Linked DNA regions of Homo sapiens: regions 1, 2 and 3 are each linked to region 4. The links are contacts of gene promoters, found by promoter capture Hi-C in blood cells and fetal thymus (Javierre and others, 2016). All regions are on one chromosome and are shown on one strand. The core of a region is centred on a gene start or on the middle of the fragment in contact, and the rest is flanking DNA. Distances in the headings are between cores, read along the strand shown. Region 1 has its middle 6.9 kb from the start of PCDHB2. Region 2 overlaps PCDHGA1 (protocadherin gamma subfamily A, 1). Region 3 overlaps PCDHGA1 (protocadherin gamma subfamily A, 1). Region 4 holds the start of PCDHB14 (protocadherin beta 14).

Evidence for each region. Contacts are between HindIII fragments. The CHiCAGO score rates a contact against its expected background, and 5 or more counts as called.
Region 1: a fragment that was not itself captured here is called in contact with the fragment with the promoter of PCDHB14 in region 4 in 1 of 17 cell types (M1 macrophages); the score reaches 5.0 in M1 macrophages.
Region 2: a contact is called between a fragment that was not itself captured here and the fragment with the promoter of PCDHB14 in region 4, in 1 of 17 cell types (erythroblasts). The highest score is 5.1, in erythroblasts.
Region 3: a fragment that was not itself captured here is called in contact with the fragment with the promoter of PCDHB14 in region 4 in 5 of 17 cell types (M1 macrophages, M2 macrophages, endothelial precursors and 2 more); the score reaches 8.6 in M1 macrophages.

What each region holds. Positions count from the first base shown.
Region 1 is chr5:141,085,336-141,090,017 of GRCh38, reverse strand. It overlaps PCDHB@. Among named protein-coding and RNA genes, the nearest start is that of PCDHB2, 6.9 kb to the left of the region's middle. The HindIII fragment of the contact is 4,657 bases long and covers 1-3,617 here.
Region 2 is chr5:141,442,882-141,446,982 of GRCh38, reverse strand. The region is part of intron 1 of PCDHGA1 (protocadherin gamma subfamily A, 1); the gene reads right to left. The region is part of intron 1 of PCDHGA2 (protocadherin gamma subfamily A, 2); the gene reads right to left. All of the region lies in intron 1 of PCDHGA3 (protocadherin gamma subfamily A, 3), which reads right to left. All of the region lies in intron 1 of PCDHGB1 (protocadherin gamma subfamily B, 1), which reads right to left. It also overlaps PCDHGA4, PCDHGB2, PCDHGA5, PCDHGB3, PCDHGA6 and PCDHGA7, and 10 more genes. Among named protein-coding and RNA genes, the nearest start is that of PCDHGA12, 14 kb to the right of the region's middle. The HindIII fragment of the contact is 1,120 bases long and covers 2,113-3,232 here.
Region 3 is chr5:141,377,530-141,381,930 of GRCh38, reverse strand. All of the region lies in intron 1 of PCDHGA1 (protocadherin gamma subfamily A, 1), which reads right to left. The region is part of intron 1 of PCDHGA2 (protocadherin gamma subfamily A, 2); the gene reads right to left. The region is part of intron 1 of PCDHGA3 (protocadherin gamma subfamily A, 3); the gene reads right to left. All of the region lies in intron 1 of PCDHGB1 (protocadherin gamma subfamily B, 1), which reads right to left. It also overlaps PCDHGA4, PCDHGB2, PCDHGA5, PCDHGB3, PCDHGA6 and PCDHG@. Among named protein-coding and RNA genes, the nearest start is that of PCDHGA7, 3.0 kb to the left of the region's middle. The HindIII fragment of the contact is 3,193 bases long and covers 747-3,939 here.
Region 4 is chr5:141,221,760-141,226,000 of GRCh38, reverse strand. It overlaps PCDHB14 (protocadherin beta 14), which reads right to left and starts at 2,658. Exons shown (of 1, transcript NM_018934.4): 1 at 1-2,658. The coding sequence starts at 2,495. The coding sequence ends at 99. It also overlaps PCDHB@. The HindIII fragment of the contact is 16,360 bases long and covers 1-3,468 here.

The sequences.
Region 1 (4,682 bases), core at 40-2,539, 130 kb after region 4:
GAGAGACAGAGGTATGACCTCTTCCAAAAATCTCAGACTTTTTTTTATGATTAAAATAGGTTAAAACTTAAATCAGGTTTAGGTAATCTGGTAGATGATTGAATTTTCACTAAGATCACTATTGAAATTTTACTTTAAAAGAAAATATGGACTGGGTGCTGTGGCTTATGCCTGTAATCCCAGCACTTTGGGAGGCCAAGGCAGGTGGATCACGAGGTCAGGAGATCGAGACCATCCTAGCTAACACGGTGAAACCCTGTCTCTACTAAAAATACAAAAAATTAGCTGGGCATGGTGGCAGGCGCCTGGAGTCCCAGCTACTCGGGAGGCTGAGGCAGGAGAATGGCGTGAACCCGGGAGGCAGAGCTTGCAGTGAGCTGAGATGGCGCCACTGCACTCCAGCCTGGGCAACAGAGCGAGACTCCATCTCAAAAAAAAAAAAAAAGAAAAGAAAATAATATGGCTAAATACAATATCGAAAATTAGTAAATAATGAAGAAATCCAAAGGTGTAGAGAGGGCAAAGAATACGGGGTGAGGGGAAGAAACCTGAAACTCTGACTACAAAATACAAAGCATAAATAATCAATTTAGATATGCTAAAGAAATATAAGGAAATACTTGAAAATTATAACATATTTTCATATCACAGTAATTATTTGAACATCTACTGTGTAAAGAAGCAGGCCAACAAGAAAACAAAGGAATACTAAAACCATAGTATATGCTAAGTGAGGAATCTAAGTGACAGACCCCATATTCCTGAGGTCTGTCAAGATGTAGCCAGTAGAGCTGAAAGAAACAGCTGACCAGCAGCAGTTGTTGTCTGAATCTGGAATACATAGGTGGCATCTCAGTGTCCTTGACCATAACCTGAAGTCTATGATTGGCTAGATTACCATCACTCACAAACCTAGTGTGCACACTTCCCAGTGTTGGGCTAACACGCTATACAGATGGAGACTCAAGTCTTTGAGTAACTGATAGGACATGAAGACCTTCCAGACCTAGTCTCCTTCTACTGCCACCACCTTGAACATCACATAATCCGTTCTGCATTAAATATAACACAAAGGAGAATTGCCATTGCCATCAAATATTACCAACCACACCAACACCATGCTGCTAGCTCATGGTAGTAGTAGTGTCTGTTTCTCTCATACAGAACTTGACTCTTATGGGCCTTACAAACAGATTCTTTGTGTCCACTGTCATGGAGTACTGCACATCCTGGGAAACCAGAAGCAAATAAGTTACTTGGGTGTTTTTCTAAGTCTCTGTTTATGGCAGTGTGCTGCTAAAATGCACACTCTAGGGCTGTGTTTTCATACTTGATAAGTGCAGAGGCAGTTTGGTGAAAATGAAGACCTGGTTATATTGTTTCCTTTCAGCTTACAGTAACTCCAGATCTCTGGCAGTAATCATAGAATTGTACTTGTCTTTAATCTACCTCTATTGAAGGCTTTAGGGTGAAGGGAAGGTGGTATTATGAAGCCCAAATATCTATTTTTTTTTCTGTGATCTGGATCTGAAACACAGGAAACAGCAGATATGGTCTTAAAGCAGATATGGCTCCTTGGGACCTAGTTCATAAATGATGACATGATGATTAGGAGTGGACTGTCTTTTACAGCAAGAAGTTACATTTTCTAGAGTCTTTAATTATTGATGATCTCAGAATCCACACTGTAGATTAGTATAGCCTTGGAATTTACGGGTTTGAGTGATGGGTTTGCTTTTGGTACTTTTATACCAATGTAAATGCTTTATTAAAGTTTTCATTAAGTCTTCAGTAGCCCGGTAAAACCTTAAAGATAGTTTTATATTATACCTTGTATCCAAATTCCTGATAGAAAAGTGATAGCCAGGGAGGAAAAACTTTTTTTCTGGGATTACTGTACTGAACTACTATATATTACAGCTGAGTAAAATCACTGATAACCCACAACTTTGGTGAAGACCAATGCAGATTTGGATCTATGTGGGGACCCACCATCCAATATCATGATAGTTAAATTAACCTCAACCCATTTCTTTCCACTGAGAAAATTGCCCATCCTCATTCAGGATATTTTCTGCCACCATTCTCTAAGCAAACAGAAGAGAAGACATGGGAATTAGGATTCAAAATATACTTATGAATACTGCTCTGTCTACATGTTCTGCCATCTATATGGTCTCTACAAGATGCTCTCCTTGATTTTTTGCAGCATTCCTAGATCCAGTAATACACACTAGTGAATGGCTATATCTGTGAGTCCAAGGCACCTTGTAAAAATGTAACTCATTTTTCCAAGTTACCTTTCTCAAGGCAAATGAGTAACTCAAATGAGTTACATTTTTCCAAGGTGCTTTGAGACTCACAGATGGATCCAATTTCTATTTAGTACCCACTCCTGAGTCTTTTGATTTGAAAATGCAGTTTTTTAAATCTATAGAAACATGAATTACCCTCTCGCTCCCCATACCTCTCAAGTTCCCCATCCTAAGGCCCAAAATCTCTGCAAAATTAGCAATGAAGGAACCACTCTCCAGCACCTCTGGAACAGAATTCTGCAGTTCAGTATCCTGAATGGTACATGCTTAGTAAAACAGAATCACACTTTGTTTTAGACTGGGCTTTAAGTATTACATTATTCCTTCTTCTAACACCTTCCAGCAAATATGGTCCTACACAAACTCTGATCACCCTAATGTTTCTATTACTTATGCCACCAGAATCTTAGACATCCAATACAACTTTCACAGACAGGGTAATATAATATGAAACATACAGCACTGTATTTGCAATCTGCTTTAACCACCATTTGAGCCTGCAGTGCCATTATAGGACCGCCCCCCACCCCCCGTCAGTGCATTAAACTCTCTAGAAAGAAAAAAAGTATTTGAGAAAGGCAAATGAAAACACCAAACACTTTGTATTTATGTAATTATTATCCAGTGTATTGAATAATGTCTGTTTTCATTTTATCAGCAACTATCATAAATATATTAAATATCAACAAATAGGTCTTATTTGAGGCATATTCTGTTGTATCTTCTTTAATTTTCCTAAGCCATACAGGAGAGTATTAAACACTGACATAAAGAAAAAAAAGATAAGATTGTTTTGTCGGTCTGTTTTACATGACATTTAATGTACTGGATATGCTATGATATTAATTGCCAAAGAATTAATCATTTTTGATGTTTAATAAGGAAACAGTAAAAATTAACAAACACAAATTTAACATTGACATAAATAAGCTACACAGCAACTCAGTTGATTTACGTCTTAAATAACGAAAAAGACATTTATTTCTACAGTTTTTTTTCTTGTAGTTGTATATCTCCATTTGATTTCGTGGTCATCAATATCACCAAAATCATCAAATGACTATTTCAAATAAAAAGTTAAAACCATATATTAATAATAGTAATCAAGTAAATAGTTACTTAAACTAAGTAAATGGAGACCAGTCCTGCTGAAAAGTAGACTATCACAACTTGTCAGCCATCATTTACGAAATATCAAGAAAAGCAAAAGATGACTTTAAAATAAATAGCTTGACCTTCTTTGAGAAGTTACGAAGACTATCATTTTATGGATTGAAGTGGGATGAATTTCCTTGTCAAGCTTCAGAATATCTGCTAGGACAGTCTACTCAAAGTTTTAGGGGTAATTTACCTTTGAGAAAGATCAAAGGAAACTAGGCATGAGCAGAAAAAAATGCGTTCCTTTTCTGTGCTTAACAATAAAGAGGAAATACACTACTAGATTCTAAATAGACCTTTGTGAAATAGATAAAAAGATAAAAATAGCTAAGCCATCAATATCTGTTAACTGTTAATGAACAATTAGCTATGCTTCAGAAAAAAAACACGATGGAAATTAGAGCCATAAAATAACCAAAACATTCAGAACGGTGCTGTTATTCCTCTACCTTTTATCCAGAATCCAAAAGGAAGAACGCCAAGGATGATAGCTGTCTCTACCTACTGTCTTGTTTTGAGCTTCCTGGAACCTAATTTCATTGGAAATACAGTGATGTTGCGTGTAGCTCTCTTTTCTGGTTTGCATTATTAGGTTGTCAGATTATGGAATATTTTAAATATCCAATGAAAAGAAAACTCTGGTAGGAAGGATCAAAGCTTTTTCTTGTTTTGTTTTGTTTTTGTTGTTGTTGTTGTTTTATCTCAGGGTGCTGAGATTATGGTTCTTAAACAGATGAAGTCTTCCCAGAAGTGCTCCAGGATGAGGCAGATAAGTGTCAACATGACCAATTCTATGTGATTGTCATCCAATGGCATGGTCTTCCACCGTCCTTCACATGAAGAAACAATTTCTGAAACTATTTCTGCTTGTAATTGCCTGAGTATTTGCCACGTGGCACTGAAATTTCCTGGTAATTCTCTTGCAGTGGATGCTTATGATGCATGGGGTATCAGTGGTATTTAAAATGTTCTGCTAGCATTTAAAATGCTCTCCAGAGGTTGCAGAATTCAGTGAGCCTGGAGAATTCTGAGAGCCGATTCATAATTATTTACTCAGACTAAATCTTCAGCCGGTTGCTGTGAGACCTGCATCTCAAAGATTGTCATTGATTGTCATGACTTGGACTTAGGAGGTCTCAGATATCTACCATTCTTCTCTGGGAGAGTTAAACTTACCTTGGGCTGTGGTTCATCCAGCGATTTTTTTCA
Region 2 (4,101 bases), core at 1,423-3,922, 220 kb before region 4:
TATGAATTAGACAGCAAATTTCCCTGGGTGCTGGATGTTTCTTACAGTGAAAAAGAGATCAGGAAGATAAATAAAACACAAAAGTAGCTCAGCCATGAACCCCAAAACATACCAGTGTAGAGCTATCAGGAAGCTTATTATGCTCAGCCTTATAAGGATCTACCCATCTGACTAGATGATCACAATGGAAGAACTCAGAGTAAAAGAATGGTAACCGGCTGGGCGCGGTGGCTCACGCCTGTAATCCCCACACTTTGGGAGGCCGAGGCGGGCAGATCAGAGTTCGAGACCAGCCTGGCCAATATGGTGAAATGCTGTCTTGTACTAAAAATACAAAAATTAGCCAGGCGTGGTGGTGCACGCCTGTAGTCCCAGCTACTCAGGAGGCTGAGGCAGAAGAATCACTTGAACCTGGGAGGCAGAGATTGCAGTGAGCAGAGATAGGGCCACTGCACTCCAGCCTGGGTGACAGAGCGAGACTCCATCTCAAAAAAAAAAAAGAATGATGACCATATGTCTAATCACACACTGAATATCTGCACTGTTTCTCAGATCCTTCAAATGAACATGGCTGGAACTCAACTCGATTTCTCTTAAATCTATCATTCTTTAGTCTTCCATTCTCATCAAATGGTAGCTTTGTCCATCCAGTTCCTTAATGTGGAAACCCAGGAATCACTCTTAATCCCTGCTCCCCATTTATCCATTGTATTTATTCAGTTAATAATATTTCACTGAAGATCTACCACTTGCCAGGCAACACAACAATATTTTCAGACACCTAGGAATATAATAATAAACAAAACACCCCCTGCCCTCATGAAATTTATATTCCACCTATTCCATTATTAAGTCTTATTGAACCCATTTCCTAAATATATCTATAATTCATCCATTTATTTCTACATCCACTGCCTCCCCTTTAATCCAAGCCAGCTCTTCTTCCATTTCTTACCAGGAATATTGCCATAGTCTCCTATCTTATCTTCCTATTTCTATTTATAACCCTCATAAATCAATTCTCCATATAGCAGCCAGAGTAAGCTTAATAATTCAAATATCTTGTCACTGCCTTGTTTAAAATATTTTAATAGCTCCTAAGTACAAGGGTATTTAGAACAAAATCCAGAATTTTAAGTGTGATTTACAAGGCTCTCCCTGCCTTATTAGTTTCATCTATTTATTTTCTGTTTCTAGCCTCCCTAGCCCTTTTAAATTGCTTGAGTCACACCTTTTATTTTTTAAAAAGATCTTTACACATGCTATTTCCTCTGCCTGACAATTTCTTTTTTACTTTCCTTGTTACCTAGATAACTTCTACTCATCCTATTAATCTATTCATCTCTCTAAATATCACTTTCCGAAAAAAAGAAAGCCTTCCTTGACCTTCAGATTAGGCGAAGCTTCCCTACTATAAGCTTTCTCTTAGTGCTTTTGTATTTCTCCTTGTTGGCTTTTATCAGACCTGTAAAATATCATGTATTAGAATAGGGCCCATTAACTCAGGAATCATATATGCCTTGTTCATTGCTGCATCCTTAGTCCATAGGTCAGTGCCTTGCATATAGCAGACAGTTAATAAATATTTGTTATGTAAATGAATGAATGAACCACCCAGGACCAGACTTGGGCAGACACCAATGTTTACTGTTTCTGGATGGGTTCTCTCAACCTACAAACTGAAGAGAATGGAAGCCTGAACTTATGCAGAGTGGTTTCGACTTATATTCTCACACAATATAGTGTAAGAATAGAGCACTTTGCACCTCTTACTTTTCAAAAGCATATAGAATACATAAAAACATAGTTTTTCATTTTTCTGTAAACTAGAAATGAACAATTAGAAGATACAATTTTAAAAATACTATTTACAATAACATTAGAAAACATCAAATATGTAGGGACAATTTAATGAGAAATATACATGACCTCTCTACACTGAAAACTATACAACATAGCTGAGAGAAATTAAAGACCTAATTAAATGGAAATATATACCATGTTCATGGATTTGAAGTGTCAATATTGTTAAGATGATCCTCCTCCCTCCTTCCCTCTTTCCCTGATAAAGGTATAGATGCAATGCCATCCCATTCAAAAATCCTACAAGCTTTGTCCTGTAGTAAGACTTTGTAGCAAGACTTACTATAAAGCTACAATAATTGAGACAGTGTGCTATTAGTAAAAGAATAGACAAATGAAACATGATCAAGAATATAGAAATAGAACTACATATATCAGTGAAATGACTTTCAACAAAGGCACCAAGCAAATTCAACAGAAAGAGGAAAATATTTTTAATAAATGGTATTGAAAAAAATGGGAAATAACTTCAACCCCTACCTCAATGAACTGGTGCATCATGCCACATGCAAAAATCAATTTTAAATAAGGTAAGTAGAAAGGAAGAGTCAAAAGTGTCAAATAAGTGCCTTTTGCTCACTAGACACAGTCACTGTCTCACCTACTATACTGCTAGAGCAAAGTATTACACAATATAAATCCAGTACGCGACCGGGCGCAGTGACTCATGCCTGTAATCCCAGCACTTTGGGAGGCCAAGGAGGGAAGATCACCTGAGGTTGGGAGTTCAAGACTAGCCTGACCAACATGGAGAAACCCCGTCTCTACTAAAAATACAAAATTAGCTGGGCGTGGTGGCACATGCCTGTAATCCTAGCTACTAGGGAGGCTGAGGCAGGAGAATCACTTGAACCTGGGAGGCGGAGGTTGCAGTGAGCCGAGAGCATGCCATTGCACTCCAGCCTGGGCAACAAGAGTGAAACTCCATCTCAAAAAAAAAAAAAAAAAAAAAAAAAAAAAAAAAAAATCCAGTACACACAAGTGACACATATCTGTTGAGATACTTCACTTTTCTTGGTTTCCAATCCTTAGCAGACTTTTCAGGTGAGCATCAGAATCTAGATTGAAGATGCCAAATTATCTGATTTACTGAATTCCTTTTAGAAGCCAATACCCAGGTAGCATTTAAAATAAAATTAACATAGCTTAGATGGACCACAGAATACATACCAATAAGGAAACCTGCTGTGAGTAGTCAGACACACTTTTATGAATTTTCCTACTAATATTCCTTTTCTCTTGACTTATCAGTAATTTTTTCAGTTTTCAGACTTTCCATATTACCCATTTTACCTAATTATGTTTTCCAAAGGTAACTGTTTCCTTTTCATTTTTTTTGTCTTTTTGGTAATATTGTATATTGTAAGCTTCCAATTCACTGATAGGGAAATGTATGAGGAATTTTATATGCAAATGTTATTCTATAATTTTTGAAGTGTTTGTAAACTACTAGTTCAGTAAAATGCTATGCTAACATTATCTGGATCAATTTTTACAATCACCTGATTATAAGAACATTTCATATACCACATTCTGTTTTAGCTCAAGTCCATTTAAAGCATTTGAATTGGAACAATTTCCCAAGCTTTAAATAAGTCATAAGGAGAGAAGCTCTTTATTTGTTTGTTTGTTTTGGGACAGGGTCTAATTCTGTCACCCAGACTGGAGTACAGGAGCGCAACCACAGCTCACTGCAGCTTCAATCTCCCCAGACTCAGGTGATCCTCACACCTCAGCCTCCCAAGTAGCTGAGACCACAGGCATGGACCACTAAACCTTGTTAATTTTTGTTTTTTTTTTTTGTAGAGATGGGTTTTTGCCATGCTGTCCAGGCTGGTCTCAAACTCCTGGGCTCAAGTGATCCACCCGCCTTGGCGCCCCAAAGTGCTAAGATTATAGATGCGCCTGGCGAGACAAGCTCTTTGTACTATAGAGAATGATGCAGTGGACATGGGTAGGGAAATAAAATGCAGTATAACTTATGATAGTGTTCTTAATCTGGTTTGAAAAGCAAGGTTCAGCTTGAGAAGGAGACTGGAACACTCAGTCATAAGACGCTCTTCAGTGGAACAATAATTTTCAAAGTTTAGGTCTGGCAACTTCCATTAGTCATATTCTTAGATTTACTGAAATTATAGGCTAACTTTATCAGCCAGAATGTCTTTTTGCAGTGAGAGGAAGTTTCTTAAATAGAAAATGAAACAGTTGTGTGCTGAAGGAGAAGTGATAAGCAGGGAT
Region 3 (4,401 bases), core at 1,094-3,593, 160 kb before region 4:
TTGAACCCGGGAGGTGGAGGTTGTGGTGAGCCGAGATCACACCATTGCACTCCAGCCTGGACAACAAGAGCAAAACTCTGCCAAAAAAAAAAAAAAAAAAAAAAGAAGAAGAAAGAAAGAAAGAAAGAAAGAGGGAATTGCCTTGCCTTGTTCCTGATTATTGATTATATAGTAGTAGAACAATGTCGGAATCCAAATATTCTCACTCCCAGTCTTGTGAGAAAAAAAGAAAGAAATCGTTGTTTGTCTTGGCTGCAGCAATCAGCTATAGAAGCAACCCATTTTCTACAGAAGGCAGAAATCTGCAGAGATCCTACTGGGCTGTGAATTCATAAGAAACTGGATAATGGATTGGCTGATTCTTTTCATTATGCAATTCAATTCAAGTCTTCATCCTAGTATGCAATTCAAATCTTCATCCTACTCTATTCTAGTGTAATTGAGAAAACAGGGATCTCTAGACAGCATTTGAGCAAAATGCAGGACTGTCCTGACAGGATCCTTAGAGGTACTCGTCTCTCCACTGATGTTGATAGAGTAAAACTAAATTATTGATGGATCCGAGGCTACCCTCTGCTAGCAGAAAGAAAAGAAAGCTCCTTTCACATAGTTGCAGAATAAAAGAGAATGACCTGCTCTGGAATAAAGACCTGGCAAGAAACAGTCTTGGTTTGTAAATTCTTCTAGGTCCTGGAGAGTAGTTGGTGGAACCAGGAGGAGAATCCAGAACTAACACTAAGAAAGCTTAACTTCGTTTTGTGGGAGGCTCCTAAGTAACCTATTTCTGCTTTCTGGTGGCATTGCTCCAGAATACAGGGAACACTTTGAAGGACATTCTGTTTTGATCTATCAAAATAATCCATAGTTATCTTTGCATTCACAAAGTAGATAAATTTTGTTTAAAGGAACTAATAGAGGTATTATAGATGAATTCTGTAAACTGGAGTTAAATTCTATTTGTTTAATAGTACTTTTGAACTTCTTGTTGAGGCAAGCAAAGTGTATGATTATTAAACAATGTAAGCACTTGTAGATATTTTCAAACAAACTTTCATGTTTGGAGGTTATAGCTCTCAATGTCTTGATCCATTTTTACCTGATGCCTCAAAATTCATAGTTTCATCTCACATTTGTTTCTTATTCTACTGTTTTAAAAAAGTCTCAATTAATTTATAGTGTCTTGGTACCTTCTTTGGAGAAAAGGAAATAAGAGCTAGTTAAATTAAATTATAGACTACTCCGAACACAAAGCATACATACCCTATGGAGTAAATGGCTTCATTGTCTCTAGCATTCACATTTTCTAAGTTATCGAACATCATAAAATTAAATATTAAAGATCTTTACTAGACCGCCAAGATATGTTTAATAAAATCTAACATAAGCTCATTGTATCAAATTGAAATCATTTCATAGTTTAAAGAGTGTATATTATTGTTGACTGAGATATTGGGAAGAATCCTGACCATTTGTTTGGTTGCATTAAAAAGAATTCTATGTAAAGTCTATTTGGCTTCCTGGGCATCGAATTGATTATCTTCTCTCTTTTCTTTTTTGGGACTTTTTTTTCTAAAAAACAAACAACAAAACAGTTCTTTGAAGTTCCATTTAGATTTTCATTCTCAAGCAAAGATATAGGTATCTTCCAATGTTTCTCCTCTGAGATTTTACTCCTTCCCCTTTGACAATTGCCACCTCAACAGAAGCCTGATCAGAAATGAATGCCTTTCAGGCCGGGCTCAGTGGCTCATGCCTGTAATCCCAGCCCTTTGAGAGGCTGAGGCGGGTGGATCACTTAAGGTCAGGAGTTTGAGACCAGCCTGGCCATCATGGTAAAACCCCATCTCTACTAAAAGTATGAAAATTAGCTAGGCATGGTGGCATGCACCTGTAATCCCAGCTACTTGGGAGGCTGAGGCAGGAGAATCGCTTGAACCCAGGAGGAGGAAGTTGCAGTGAGCAGAGATCACACCACTGCATTCCAGCCTGGGAGACAGAGCAAGACTCTGACAAAAAAAAAAAAAAAAAAAAAAAAAAAAAAGAGGCTTTCACAGACCATAAAATAAGAATAAGACAATAATTTGGTAGTTTTTTTTCCTGATGCTTCAAAATTCTATACTGAACTCTCAAAACCTCAGATAGCCTATCTTATTATTAATGATCTGTATTGCAGGTGGATTAAAGAACCTCATTTAGCCATAACTTAGCAAATTCCATGACTGCCAGGATGTTTAACAGTTGGTCAGTCCACATGAGTGAATGACTTTTGTGAGAGTAGAAGTTGGTAGTTTTTCCATCAGAGAAATATTTTATTTGTTTAAATGAAATGGTCACAGGTAATAAGAGAATAAAATAAACCAGCCTGATCTCCATGAAAAGTAGTTAGTGAGCTTTCCCTATAACAACAAATGCTCAAGATGTAGTTTAACATCCCAAATTGGTAGTATAGTAAAATAACATTCACACTTTCAGAGTTTATGAAATAATCATATGTATAACAGCCCATCTAACTCATGAGACTAATATCCAAGATTCAAGTTGTTTAAAATTGTTATTTTATCAAATTATATCACAAAGATACAAGAAAATGAGCTTTGAAGATGTGTATGATTAGATCTCTTGTTTAGGTATATACCTTTGGAAACTTGAAATAAATAAATCTATAACAATTCCTTAAATGTAAATACCACAATATTGGTTCAGAAAAACACATATTACTCTTAGCAGCTTATTTAAAAACACATCAACTCAATGTTATCTTTAAGAAGACTGACAAAGTCAGGTTACAAAGGAGGTTCTCATTTATTTTCAAGGTATCTTCTCAATTGCTTTTTTCTTACACATTCATAACAAATTCAGATGCACAAGTGGCCAATCCATTCTATAATACCACCAGATTGTAGAATCTTCCAACTCATGACTGGAGAAAAATCTTGACTATAATGTAGTTCAACAAGTCATCAAATTAGAGAATCCCCTGTACTCCATTCATTCCAGGGCCATCAACTTACTTTTGAAGACTGTCGATAACAGAATCTCCTATCTCCTTAGTGATCCATTTTCTATTCGAACATCATTGACAGTCAAAAACTCTGCTGTTTTCTGTTCATGAAACAATGATTCTGTTTGCACATTTCAGTCATAATAAATAAGACTAATCAGTCTTCTAAATGATAATCCCTTTTTTCTTGAAATATTTCAATAAAGAGTTCCTATATGATGAAAGCCTTATTGTCTGGGTTAAAATGCTAAAATATTTAAATTTTTATTTGAACCTCATTAACATTTGTTCTCCCATTCACCAGTCAGTCATCTATTTTTAGAGATATGTCCTGTAAGCAGACACTACCGAGCATGTTTTAAAATTCATGTTCACTCTTTATTTATTAATTATCATTATTATTTTTTGAGACAGAGTCTCGCTCTGTCACCCAGACTGGAGTGCAGTGGCACGATCTTGGCTCACTGCAACCTCTGCCTCATGGGTTCAAGCGATTCTCCTGCCTCAGCCTCCCGAGTAGCTGCGATTACAGGCCCATGCCACCCCACCTGGCTAATTTTTGTATTTTTAGTAGAGACGGGGTTTCACCATGTTGGTCAGGCTGGTCTCGAACTCCTGACTTCGTGAGATGCCTGCCTTGGCCTCCCAAAGTGTTGGGATTACAGGCATGAGCCACCGCACCCGGCCATTTTCACTCTTAAATACTATCAGGCACACAGTATGCAAAAGACACTGTAGTAGGCACACAGCATCGGTGCTTAGTTATTGTTAACAACCCAATAATTATAATAATGGTGATGTCAACAAATACGTGTTCACTATGCTGCTTTAGAGTTTGAAAAAAAGTTATAAAATTATTTTCTTAGAATTTGAGTCAGATAGATAAGGAAAGTCTTGTTTTAAAAAATAATATAAGTAGAGCTTATTTGAGCCAAGCTTTAGGATTGCAACCCAGGAACATAGATTCAAGTTGCCCTGGATACACACTCTATAAGCAGCAGTTACAGGTGGATTTTTACTCCAGACTGGGCAACAGAGGGGGATCCTATCTCTGATAAGAGAAGTCTTTTAAATCTTAATTTTAATTGGAAGATAATGGCGATTGTAACTGGCCCAAGTAAATAACAGATAGTTACAGGAATGTTATTCAGGTCTTTTAACACCAAAGATCTGGTGTCCCCTGCTGCAGTTACCAATGATTCTTATCTTTTCAAAAATAATTTTTGATTCCTAAGTAGTAAAGGTGAAAGATCTCTTGTATGAACGTCTGTCGTTTATAGTTATCAAGTAACACTGAGAAAAAACAAAATCTTTTTTTTTTTTTGAGAGAGAGAGAGAAAAAGTCTCATTCTGTCTCCCAGGCTAGGGTGCAGTGACACAATTATATCTCACTGCAGCCT
Region 4 (4,241 bases), core at 1,409-3,908:
GCAACTACAGTACAACCAAGAATCCACAAAAGATTATGCAAAAAGTACCATCAGCTTGCCAAGAATAACCAAAAATTAGACATTTAAAATAAATTGTTTTATTGAATGTTAAGTCCAAAGCTATTTCGAAAGTTCTCGATTTCCCCCATATTCCTACCAGTGTCATGAACTTGAAAATTGGGGATAATCGGCTTCAGAAATTTGAACTCATTTGTCCCGGAACCTCCTGTCAGACACACCTCGTATTGGTAGCTCTGGGACAGGGTCCCGGTGCCGCTCACGTCCACCAGATGCCCTGGAAAGGGACCCTCGGGCACCGAGCAGCGACCCACCGAGGCCGCCCTGCTCCTCCTGCACAGCCGCACCGCCACGAACAGGAGCACCGAGAAGAGGAAGAGCGACGACACCGAGGCCAATGCCACCACCAGGTAGACGGTGAGGGAGTCGGCCTGGGCCTGGGCCGGGGCCGCCTCAGGGAGCGGCAGGTAGGGCTGGGAGAAGCCGTCCACCAGGAGCACGTGCAGCGTGGCGGTGGCCGAGCGAGGAGGCTCGCCATTGTCCTTGACCAGCACCACCAGCCTGTGCTTGGCCGCGTCGCGCTCGCTCAGCAGCCTGGCGGTGCGCACCTCGCCATTGTGCGCCCACACGCCGAACAGCCCGGGCTCCGTGGCCTTGAGCAGCTGGTACGACAGCCAGGCGTTCTGGCCCGAGTCGCCGTCCACCGCCACCACCTTGGTCACCAGGTAGCCCGGCTCGGCCGCCCGGGGCACCAGCTCGGTGCAGGGCGCGGAGCCGTTCTGCAGCGGGTACAGCACGAAGGGCGAGTTGTCGTTGGCGTCCAGCACCAGCACGCGCACCAGCGCCTCGCTGCTCAACGCCGGGGACCCGCGGTCTGTGGCGCCCACGCGAAACTCGAACTCCTGTAGGGCCTCGTAGTCCAGCGACCTGAGGGCAAACAGGTGGCCATTGTCCGCGTTGATGGAGACCAAGGAGGCGAGGGGCAGGTGCCGGTCCTGGGGCGGCAGCAGCGAGTAGTTGACCTGGGCGTTGGTGCCTGAGTCTCTGTCTGTGGCGCTGACGCTGCCGATGTGCAGGGCGGGGCTGTTGTTCTCGCGGACGAACAGGGTGTAGGAGGTTTGGGTGAAGGTGGGGGCGTTGTCATTGACGTCAGAGAGCAGCACGGTTATGTTGTACTCGGTTTTCAGCCTGGGTGTCCCCAAGTCTGTGACGGTGATCGTGATGTTGTACTCGGCTTGGCTCTCTCTGTCCAGTGCTTTTTCAGAAACTAGAGTGAAAAAGTTCTTGAAGGTCGGTTTCAGGAAAAAAGGGAGGTTATCTTGAATAGAGCAAATCATCCTCCCATTGTCTCCAGAGTCTTGGTCTAGGATACTAAAAAGAGCTACTAGGGTCTCTGAGGCATTCTCTGGAATTCTCTTTGTAATCGACGATATGGTCACTTCTGGTGGGTTGTCGTTTATATCCATAACTTTAACTAGAAGGGTGCATTTTCCTGAAAGACCCCCACCATCTGTTGCCTGAATATTTATAGTGTAGGACTGTATTACTTCAAAATCCAGGGGTGATCTCAAATTAACTTCCCCAGATATTGGATTAATTTCAAATGTTTTACGAATATCTTCTGATGCATGGAAAAATGTGTAAGATATTTTTCCATAGTTTCCTGCATCCAGATCCTTAGCTGAGATGGTGGCAATCCAGGAGCCAAGGGGTCTGTCCTCGGGGACTTGCACCTCATAGAGACTCTGAGGAAACTCAGGGGCATTATCATTGATGTCCAACACCTTGATGAGAACCAAAGTTGTCCCAGACTTGGGCGGGGATCCACCATCCACTGCTGTGAGTGTTAATCTGAGTTCAGCTTCCTGTTCATAATCTAAAGCTCTATCTAGGACCAGCTCTGGGTATATCTTTCTGTCACTACTGTCGGGAATTTTAATGTAGAAGTGAGAATTGGGGCTAATTGTGTAGTTTTGGAGACTGTTGCTTCCGACATCCAAATCTTGAGCACTCTCCATTAGAAAGGTAGCTCCAACAGTGGTACCTTCTGATATTTTAATAAGTATTTCCTTGTCTAGAAATGTAGGGGAGTGATCATTTATGTCTTTGACACACAGCTCAAACCGAAAAAACTGTAAAGGGTTTTCCAAAACCACCTGAAAATGCAGCACACAGGGCTCGGTGGAGCCACACAGCTCGTCTCGGTCTAGTTTCTCATTTAGGAGCAAATTCCCAGTCAGCAAATCAAGGTGCAAATACTTTTTATTATCATCAGACACTACCCGGGCTTCACGTGAAGACAGCTCCTCCACCCCCAGCCCTAGGTCCCTCGCTAGATTAGCCACAAAAGAGCCAATTTCTGTTTCCTCTGCCACAGAATAGTGTGCAGATTCAGTACCTGCCCGAGACAATCCCAGCAAAACAAGGAATATTAGAACTTGCCTTTTTCGCAGATCGAGTGCCCCTCTGATCTCCATGGTTCCTTTAGGCAATCTCTTGTGGAAAAACTGAAGCTCAGCCGTAATTTTGGAAGCTGAAGCTCTGGTTTTTAACAGGAACCCCCTGGAGAGTGTATCCTCCAGCAGCTCTGTAGGCGAAGCTCCTTTAATGCCTGTCTTTTCAGTGGGTTGGATGCTTTCTGTTCTCCTGAATAGCGAAGCTCACCGTGCCAGCCTATGTACTGTTTTCGTCTTATCCTGTAGCGCCACCATGTGTCTCCATGTTTTTTTTTTCATTAAAAAAGTTTTCCTCTTTGAAAAAGTAATTCATAAATACATCCGGAACATTCGAAACAAATCCCAGACATCATTTTTTTTCCTTTAAATACTTCACTAAGTATTTTTAATAGGTAAGGCCTTCTAAAAGATAATTGTAATAAAACGTTCACAATCAACAACTTGAGCAATAATTCCTTGGTGTAATTTATACTGCATTTGGTTTTCCCCAGTTCTCTCCAAAATGTCCTTTGCTGTTGGTTTGTTTGAATTTGAATCCAGAAAAGTCCATACACTGCATTATCACTGTTTTGAATGCTCGGCACTAAAGGATCTGTTAAAATATTCTGAACTGAAGAAATAATTTTTTATTTAAGTCATTTCTCGAGTAATTACAAATATATTATCTCCTTCACTCTTGTAAATACTTGTTGTCAGCTATAGTTGGTAATATCATTACTTTTTTCACTTTTATATTTTAAAAATATAAAGAAGGACATGGCACAAATAAGTTAGAGATAATTCTTGCTCTTACAGAGCTCACAAGCTAGAAAAATTGGCAGACAAGTAAACGAAGTATGTCATAATGTATGCATTTATAAAAAGTAATATAGAAATACCTAGAAAAGACTTCTTGTACCTAGGAGGCTGCATACCTTAGTGCTTGGGAATATGGGATCTGGAACCAAATTATCAATATTAGAATCCTGGTTATGTGACTTACTATCTATAAGCTTGGGCAAGTTATAGATACCTTTGTTTCCTCACCTGTAAAATGGGGTAATAATATTTGTCTCCTATGATTATTATCGTAGGCATCTAATGAATTAATATTTACAAAGTGGTTTGTAAGTGCTGGTTAAGTGTCTGTCAAAAATAAAATAATTAAGATCAAAGTCGGACTTGGGACATCAGTGAAAGCTTTCCTGAGGTAATGAAAAATACATTGTGATCTGAAGGAACTAGCCAGGAGAAGGAGGAATATTTCAGATGGGCATTTTGAGGAACACAGAGAAATGAAGTATGCCTTGGACTTTAAAAACTATGGAAGGGGAGGGTCTAACAATGAAATTAGGGTTAAAAGCATGGTGAGAACATGAATCATTATACAGGTCATATCATGCATTCTTGAATTTATCCTAAAGGTAATTCAAGTACAAAGATGGGTTTTAAATATCTGATTAACATGATTACATCTGCATTTTAAAAAATCAGTTTGGCTGCAGTATGGAGAATTAATTTCAGGGGGAGTGACTGGAGAATCAAGGAGATCAGATAAGAGATGATGATCTGGATGAGGATAATGCCAGTGTGGATGGAGAGAAGAGGGATGAATAGAAAGGTATGAGGAGATGAAATGTTTTCAACTGTTGGTTGATAGGTTGCATGGGGAGAAAAATGGGAAAGACTCAGAGATGATATCACACCTCTGGACTGGGCATCTGGATGACTAGTGGTGTCATTCACTAGGACAGGGAATGCTAAAAAAAAACATGATTGGGGTGGAAA